Regions from separate parts of the Homo sapiens genome. Here region 1 is linked to region 2. Evidence: promoter capture Hi-C in human tissues and cell types (Jung and others, 2019). All regions are on one chromosome and are shown on one strand. The core of a region is centred on a gene start or on the middle of the fragment in contact, and the rest is flanking DNA. Distances in the headings are between cores, read along the strand shown.

Evidence for each region. The method cuts DNA at HindIII sites, captures the fragments that hold promoters and counts their contacts. A contact is called where the count stands out against the background at its distance.
Region 1: a contact is called between a fragment that was not itself captured here and the fragment with the promoter of PLS1 in region 2, in 1 of the 25 tissues and cell types used here (IMR-90 fibroblasts).

What each region holds. Positions count from the first base shown.
Region 1 is chr3:143,737,408-143,742,163 of GRCh38, reverse strand. The region is part of intron 4 of SLC9A9 (solute carrier family 9 member A9); the gene reads left to right. Among named protein-coding and RNA genes, the nearest start is that of SLC9A9, 110 kb to the left of the region's middle. The HindIII fragment of the contact is 5,662 bases long and covers 1-4,709 here.
Region 2 is chr3:142,594,879-142,599,210 of GRCh38, reverse strand. It overlaps PLS1 (plastin 1), which reads right to left and starts at 2,818. Exons shown (of 16, transcript NM_001145319.2): 1 at 2,702-2,818. It overlaps PLS1-AS1 (PLS1 antisense RNA 1), which reads left to right. Exons shown (of 4, transcript XR_001740938.2): 4 at 1,914-3,302. RefSeq lists an enhancer at 2,523-2,762. The HindIII fragment of the contact is 14,749 bases long and covers 1-4,332 here.

The sequences.
Region 1 (4,756 bases), core at 629-3,128, 1.1 Mb before region 2:
ATGAGCCAGTTTATTGATCTGGGTGGTGCCAGCTGATCCATCAAGTGCAGGGTCTGCAAAATATCTCCAGCACTGATCTTAAGAGCAGTTTAAGGAGGGTCAGAATCTTGTAGCCTCTAGCTGCTTGACTCCTAAACCATAATTTCTAATCTTGTGGCTAATGTTAGTCCTACAAAGGCAATCTAGTCTCCAGGCAAGAAGGAGGTCTGCTTTGAGAAAGGGCTGTTACCATCTTTGTTTAAACTATAAACTATAAGCTAAGTTTCTCCCAAAGTTAACTCAGCCTACGCCCAGGAATGAACAAGGGCAGCTTGGAGGTTAGAAGAAAGATGGAGTCAGTTAAGTTAGATCTCTTTCACTGTCTCAGTCATAATTTTGCAAAGGTGGTTTCAATGGGTTAGGGGGAAGATCACCGACGTAAAGTGCCATTTTCATCACATCATATCAAAGACTACATACTGTCAGCATAATTTATGACTATTGATGTTGACCTTGATCACTTGGCTGAGGTAGTGTTTGTCAGGTTTCTCCACTGTAGAGTTACGATTTTTCCCTCTTTCCATAGTGTACTCTTTGTAAGGAAGTCATTATGCATAACCCACACTTACAAAGTGACAAGTTACATTCCCCTACTTAACCTTCTGGAGTATCTGCATTTAAGAAACATCTTCTGCATAAAGAGATTTGTCTCTTACCATCCATTTATTAATTTATACAATTCTTTATTTATATCAGTGTGGACTTGTGGATGTTTGTTTTATATTTTGATTAATAATCCAATATTATTTATTTTGTTGCTCCAGGTATTTTAGCTATTTTAGCTTTGGCCGTTGGTATTTCCTTCTATTGGTTTCTGTGCCCCTTTGACATAATGGGGTGATTTTTTGGGGGGAGAGTCACTTTCTTACTTTCTGATACTACAAAATACTCCAGGCTTATGCTATATATTTCCTACCCAGTGTTAGGAACAGCTATTTCTCCAAAGAAGCTTAATTCCTTTTACTGGAGAATGAGATTAGAAACCAGGATCTTGGGTGGTTTCTTTTAGACCCTCTCAGATGACATAGGAAAGAAATATATGTGTGTATACTAATGTGCATATATATACATATCTATAAATCATTCTATATGTAAGCAGCTATACCTATATTAAGTTAAACATGAGTTCTTGCTGATGTCTCCAACTCTAATCTAATCTACATTCTAGCCTCCTCCCCTTGCTGATCTGTAAATTTTCACTGCAACCGTGAGAAGCCATTTACTTAATTGTTTAACTCCAATACACATGAATAGTAGTATCAGAATTTTTAACCTGTATCTCTGTGGAAAACTACTTTATCAACTACAGTACAGTACTTAATGTGTAGTTCCCTTTGGCTTTAGTCTTACAGACTGCATTTCCAAAATCTTTTAGGTCAGCTTTTCTCCTATCCCCTTTAATGAGGTGTTTTATACATTTATAATACAGTTAGATTCTCTTGTCAGTCTGCATTCTTTCCTGGAATTTCCCAATGGGGAGGTATGATCATTTATTAAATAAATTAATCTTGTGTTTATCAAAGCATATCACTAATTGTATGGAAGATGTTTTTAATGGACTTATTTTATTAAATATGCATTTATTTTAATTTTACTAGAAGAAACATATAACTAGCCTACTGAACTATGATTTCAAAAACATTATTAATTAGGACAAATATCACTATGCTTAATTTTAAAACTGAGCCATATTAATGAAAATTGACAGTAACAGAGGAATGGCTGTAATTTGGGAAATCCAGAATTAATTTATGCACAGGATCCATTTACATGCTACCTAATGCATTGCTCATTGAAAGTCCTACTTCAGCTTCAGAGCCCTAACCTCCAACATTCTTGGCATTTCAAAACAATAATTTGGCTATATATATATCTCTCTCTCTCATTTTTTTGTCTAAAGTAGCAATGCTTCTCTCCTTCCTTTAGTCTCATACAGTTTTATGCTACATGAAGCAACAGTTAATCCATAACTTTGCTACTTCTCACCAAGTTGGCGGCTTCTTTAAATGGCATAATCTAGAGATATCCAGGATCTCTTAGTAGAAGTTGGACTTTGTCAGCATCTTCAATAACACAGTCCTGATGGCAATGCTCTTGCTCTGACTCACCATATGGAAACCCGACTGAGAAATAGCATCTTGGATAGAACATGGATAGGACCAAAATATCTCAACATGGATGTGGACAGTGATAAAAACAAGCAAACAAACTTGAAGGGTTCATTGAGGCATAAATGGTTGAGGCTTACTTCCAGTAAGTAACTTCAAATTCAGTAAGTCTGGGGTGGGGCCTGAGAGTTTTCATTTCTAACAAATTCCCAGGAGATACTGAAGCTGTGGGTATAGAGAGCACACTGAGAACCACTGGTCTAGTTGTTCAGGCAGTGGCTTAAGGGAAACAAAAGGACAGATTAACCCTGAATATGTTATTATAGAAAATATCATTGCCTGAAGGCAAAAGCTTCAAATAAAATTTTTGGAGAAATGAAATGAAATGAAATTTAGACCTTGGACTTCCTTATTTTTATTGTGGTTATTGATCATAAAATAAAGTAAGACTAGTAAGAATGTATTAACTTTGTAAATAAGTGACAATTATCAACATCATCTTTGTTGTAATTCTTTTCTTTCATAGAAAAGTATCTCAGATTTTTAGCATGTGTAACACAAACCTCAGCGCTAACACTTTCTAGCCAGGTGGTCTTAATTAAGTTTTTTAATCCCTTTGTGTCCTTCACTATGATATGGAAGTTATGGGATAACGGGAAATATATACTTGGTCTTTTCCCTGGTGTCTGGCACAGAACTCTTAAAACCCTTGGCATTTTCTGCGTGATAGAAGTGATGACAAAATCATTTCTGATTGACAGGAGTGATGACAAGCTCATTATTATTCATAACAATCCCCTTTCATCTATACTTGCATTTACAGTAATGAGGTGACTCGCTGGGCCCCACGAGAGCTGCAGGGTGGGGACTGGTCTTCAGAAAGACAAAGGCATGATTAGAGGGTTGGAACTTTCAGCTTCACCACTTACCTTATACCACTCAACCCCAGGAGAGGGGAGAGAGACAGGCTGGAGATTGAGTTCATTCACCAATGGCCAGTGATTTACCCAATCAAGCCTATGACTTGGAGACTCCATAAAAACTCCTAAAAGATGGGGTTCAGAGAGCTTCAGTCTGAAGGACACATCAGTGTACTAGGAAGGTGGTATATCCAGAGGGGATATGAAAGCTGCATACCTGCACATGCCTTCTCCTGTGCATCTCTTTCATTTGGCTGGTCCTGAGCTGCATCTTTTATAATAAACAAGTCATTGTAAGTAACGTACTTTCCTAAATTCTGTGAGCTATTGCAGAAAATGTTTGATCTGAAAAGTGGGTCTTGGGGACTTCCAATTTCTAGACAGTGGGTCAGAACTACAAGTGTCCTGGGTCTTGGAACTGGCATCTATAATGGAGGCAGTCTTATGGGACTGGGTCCTTTACCTTGTGGAATGTGACACTAACTCCAGGTAGATAGTACCAGAATTGAATTTAATTGTTGGATACCTGGTTGGTATTCAGAGAACTGGAGGATTGGTTGCTGGAGTAAAAACAGCCCAGGAATAATATTATTATTTAACTATAACAATAAGGGTTTCACTAGGGAAACATATCCACTCTAGGTATCACAAACAGAAAAGGATGTAATAATATTTAGGAGGTTACAAAACCGTTGTAACGGCTAGAGGGGGAAGTCAAGGTGTGGCCACTAGATTTTATATCAGTGTCCCAGAGAGTGAGGGAATTAATGACCCCATCCAGAGGCAAAGGACTGTAGGAAATCTTGTGACTATCCGGTACTGCCCTAAGCCCTGTGGCATGTGGCTGGAAGGGAATTCAGAGGCCATTGTAAGAGTAATTTCTGTTAAGGCCCACATATCTGCTACTGCAGAAGGAAGAATGGCTTCTGACTTCTTCCTGTCTCCCAAGTCTAGCAATAGAGCATCTCACTAGATGGCAAAATATAAATTGCATGCAGCATATCAGTGGTAACAGAGTCTAGGAAATGTAGTTTTTGGTCTTCCAACCCCTGTAATAAAGGGAAATGCACCAAAAAGCATGGAATAAAATGTTACTATGTAAAAAATTAAAAATCCATCATACATTCTCATAGGGTTTTTATAGGGATTAAATGAGAGAATGCATGTAAAATATTAACAGAGCATGTGAACACGTCTTACATATTTAGTAAGAGTATACGTTCTTGCTGCTGCTGCTGCTGTTGCTGATGGTAAAATCTCGGGCCGGGGTGACTGAGACTGGGTATTCTGTCTTACTTCATAGTTTTCTCATACTTTTGAATTTTCTACCATAACACAATTCTTATTTAAAAGAAAATTAAGTAAACCACCAACAGAAATGCTAGAAGGTCATGTTTTCTGTAGCTGCATATAAAACATTAGTATAGGATAGCACATTAGAAGAAACTGTAATATTAACTAATAAGCTAATAAGGAAAATATGTTTTCTATACAAACCAAGTACATAGAGCTTTATTCTGGACATATTTGAGACTCAAGATGAACACGTATTATCAGGACAGTCTTCTCCAGCTCTGCCATTCGTGAGAGTTTTGTGGGTTTTTTTTTTGGTTTTTTTTTTAACTCTCATTACATGGGTTCTTATTTTAGGTATTGAGTGAATTCTGAATCAAGCCTTTATTTCTATGA
Region 2 (4,332 bases), core at 1,569-4,068:
TATTTATTTATTTATTTATTTATTTATTTATTCATTCATTCATGTAATAACTATTGAGTGTCTGATACTGCAAAGCAATGTGCCAGGTATTGTGAAGGGTTAAAGGTCATCCTTCAGAGAGCTTATCATCTAGAACGGGAAATAAGACAATTACATCACTAACTAAGAAACAGAGACAATGTCACAATTCGAGGTACTTTTTTTTTTTTTCAGATGCAGTCTTGCACTGTCGCCCATGCTGGAGTGCAGTGGCACAATCTTGGCTCACTGCAAGCTCCGCCTCCCGGGTTCATGCGATTCTCCTGCCTCAGCCTCCCAAGTAGCTGGGACTACAGGCGCCCACCACCATGCCCCCCCAGCTAATTTTTTGTATTTTTAGTAGAGATGGGGTTTCACCGTGTTAGCCAGGATGGTCTCAATCTCCTGACCTTGTGATCCACCCACCTCGGCCTCCCAAAGTGCTGGGATTACAGGCGTGAGCCACCACACCCAGCCAATTGGAGGTACTTTTAAGATAAAAAGAACATTATAAACCCATTACTAACACCCCAACCCTGAAATTCATTTTCAACATGTCTTTCCTTCTCTGCATTTAGTCTTTCACCACATGCTTCTTCCTTTACATTTCTTAATTCTGTGCCCTCTTTTCTCCACTTTGAGTCACAGGCTTAATCCAGGGCCTGGACCAACTGACCCGTGTTTTTACGCCTGTCTCCTGTAATCCCCCTAACTAATCTGTGATCTGTTATCAAAATATGAGGAATCAGAAATGGACTTGGCTGCTGTCTTGATACAGCTCTAACATGGCCTTCCCCATATTATAGAACACACATGAAATCTCTTTACAAAACTATACATACTGCACTTCCTTCCCCCACTCCCTCCCACAAACAGGGGCTAAGAATATACTTTGTGCTTAGTGCTGGGTGGGATGTTTAAGTCATAGGCTTTAACCTCCAAGAGCTTACACAACCTGCCAACTTCCTGGTCGGGAAGTTGGGAGGTGCTAAAATACTCAGGATACTATATACAATGGGGATACTAACAGCACAAACAACAGTAGTAAGTGCTATAGGGTTCAGAAGAGGGAGAGCTACTTCATGCTAAGGCAATCAAGGAAGGCTTCCAAAAAGAGGTCACACCTGAGCTACACCTTGCAGCATGAGCAGGACTTCAATACGGAAAGAGGGAGGCAAACAGGCATTTTGGGCAAAGGGCCCAGGTGACTGAGGGAAGGAAGGAGGGCGTTTTCAGGACCAGCAAATTGTTAGGTGGGGCTTCAGTGAAAGGGCACTTTTTGAAAGGAATTTATGAGGTACTAGGAAGCTTAGTAAGAGAAACAACTAATTTTCTGCTTAAGCCAGACTTCATGGTATAAGTAGAAGAGAAAAAGGAAGTTTAATAATGGAGGTAAAGAAGAGTATCTGCAGGGAGTGGTAAAAAGACCCCAGAAAATGAGAAAACCTGGATCCCAGGCCTAGCTTTGCCAATGAGGGGCTTGGGTGGCCACAGCAAGTCATCTAACCTCGCTGGTCTCAGTTTTCTCATTTGTAAACTGAAGCAGCTGAACTGGCTGACCTCAAAGGTCTCTACAGCCAAAACTAGACCAGCTGTATATTATTTCTGCCATTAAAACATTTATCATGGGAGGAATGAAGGGGGGCAGGATACCTGTATTCCCTTTCCATATAGGTTTCTCTTCCTGAACTTAAAATTTCCTCTTCCTAAACTTACTACCTCTCTCTCTATATATATATATGCCTCCACATTACACATTAACACTTTACTATAGAATTTCATTACATAATTCAACTTAAAGGAAAGCTGATTACAAAGGTGGTGGGGGGTGTAAAAGTACTTGCTTCAAGTTCAGTGTGTGCCCCCTGTCCTGAAATTTTGCTTCTGGCTCACAGGTTCTTCAAGAAATTTATGCAGCACAGCTGAAGCCTCATACAAGTGTATCCAACACCGTGGCTGGAGGGAAAGATATCACGGTATAAGCCATAAAATGTGACATAGTAAGTAAGTAAAGGAGGAAAAGTGAGAATTCTGTTACTCATCTAAACGACCGCTTCCTTTTAATAGTACCAAATGAAGACCGAAATACAGTAATAATTGAAAAGTTAGGGAGAAATCTTAAATTTTTTTAAGTCTCCACTTGAAAATGCAGCTGAAACACGGAAAGTTTTTTGGCAGTGAAATTCGCTGAAAACTGACATTTTTATGCCGCATCCAGAGGTCCCTATGCTCCAGGAAAGGTACCAAAAACAGCACGGATGGGATTTCACTACAGCCCTATTGATCCTATGCACCAAAAGGCCAAAGGCAAATAAACCAGTCCCAGAATTAAAACAAAACAGGCTGGTTCAGAAAGCCTCACCGGCAGCCACCCAAAGTTGAAAGAAGAAAACTTAATGAAATACCTTATTTCATTGCATAGAATCACAATTCAGTTAACAGGCTTATTGTTTAAGCAGTGTAAATACGCGATTTAACACCTGCGGGCACTGCCTGCCGGGACTGGGCAGAAGCGTGCCCAGAGGACGGCGGGCGCCACACTGCACAGCCAGGAGACGAGACGCGAGCGAGGGGACCCGGAGATACTGCCCCCGAGCCGCCGCGCGCCCCCAAAGGAGTAACGCTTCGCTTTCCATCTGTCTGTCCAGCCTTCCTTTTGGGCCCTATCCCCACCCCCGCGTACCTGCCGCCACCGCTGTCCTGCCTTCGAGAGGGCAGCTCCCACTGGAGATCCAAGTACCTGCAGGTCCACTCTGCGGCTACCTCTCCGCGCCCGCGTAGCCGCTGCGCTCGCGCCACTGCGCATGCTCGGCCGGCACCCGGGCCCGCAAACTCTGAATCCACTTGCCGCGTTTTGCCTGCGGCTCCCAGGGGAGGGAAAGGGAAGCCCAGAACCTGGGTTTAGGCTAAGGGTGAAAGAGGAGTTGCAGGCGCTGGGAGCGTGGATGGGGAGAGGTGGACGGGCGCTGCGGCAACGTTATCTCTACCGCCCACAGTTACCCAAGTCTAAAGATGACCACCTACACCCTGGGAATGAGTTTAGCACAGCAGTTCTCAAACTTGAGCGTGGATCAGAATCACCTGGAGAGCTTTTTAAATCACAGATCCCAAACCCGGAAACTGAGTTTCCGATTCAGTTAGGTCTGGAGCGTAGCGCGACAGTTCCCATTTCTAACATGTTCTCAGCGAAAACTGGTGCTACTAGTCTGGGTACCACACTTTGGGACCTGCTGGTCAAAAGGAAAGGTATACGTTATTAAAGGAAGACTTGTTTCTCTCCCCTACTCTTTTTTTTTCCGTTTGTTTCACGGATTGCTTCCTTTTCCTTTAACAGCCACACCTGATTAAAATAAATATATAACTAAAGCCCACACTCAAACAAAAGTGGGATATTTTCTCTCGCATGTGAGTCAGGTAAATGGAATGCTGCCTCAAGAGTTCTCACATACTTTGCCTGAAGCATAATCCGTAGTTGTGGTCTGTCCAACTCAGTCCAGAGAACAGAACAAGGTTTTGCTGCCCCTTTAACTCAAAGTCCCACGTGCCCCTTCTGCGCCTAACACAATATCCAATACAGAATAGGCACCCAACCAACCCTGAGATGGTAACAATAGAAAAAATAAAGGGGGGAAGTTGAAATTATTTTAAGAACTCAAACAAATTGGACGAGCAATGAACTATGAAAGTAGGTGGGCCATGGAGAGGGAAGATAAGGAATTTTTCCCACCTGCCACCTAGAGAATCAGGTGAATTTAGTATTCTTATCTGATTTTTCCCACCTGCCACCTAGAGAATCTGGTAAATTTAGTATCCTTATCTGATACTTATTTATCTAGATATGCAAGGGGAGTTAAGTAAGTTCTCACAAAATAAAGCAAAATATTTCCTTAAAAGGTAAACATACATCTAACATATGACCCAGCCATTTCATTCCTAGATGTTATCCAAGAGAAATTAAAACATATGCTTACACAAAAACTTGAACAGGAATGCTCATAGCAGCTGTTTTTCACAAAAGCCCCAAACCAGAAGGAACCCAACTGTCCAACAACATGTAAATGAAAAAACAAATTGTGGTATATTTATACAATGCAATACTACTCAACAATAAAAAAGAAGAAATACTCTCACACAGGACTCAATATGGATAACTCTCAAAATCGGTATGCTGAGTTGAAGAAGCTAGAGACAAAACATATTGTATAATCCCACTTATATGAAGTACAAACTAACCTATAATGACAAAACCCAGATTAGTAATTGCCTGGAGCCAGGAGTGGAGGGAAGGATAAACTGCAAATGAGCAGAAAAAAT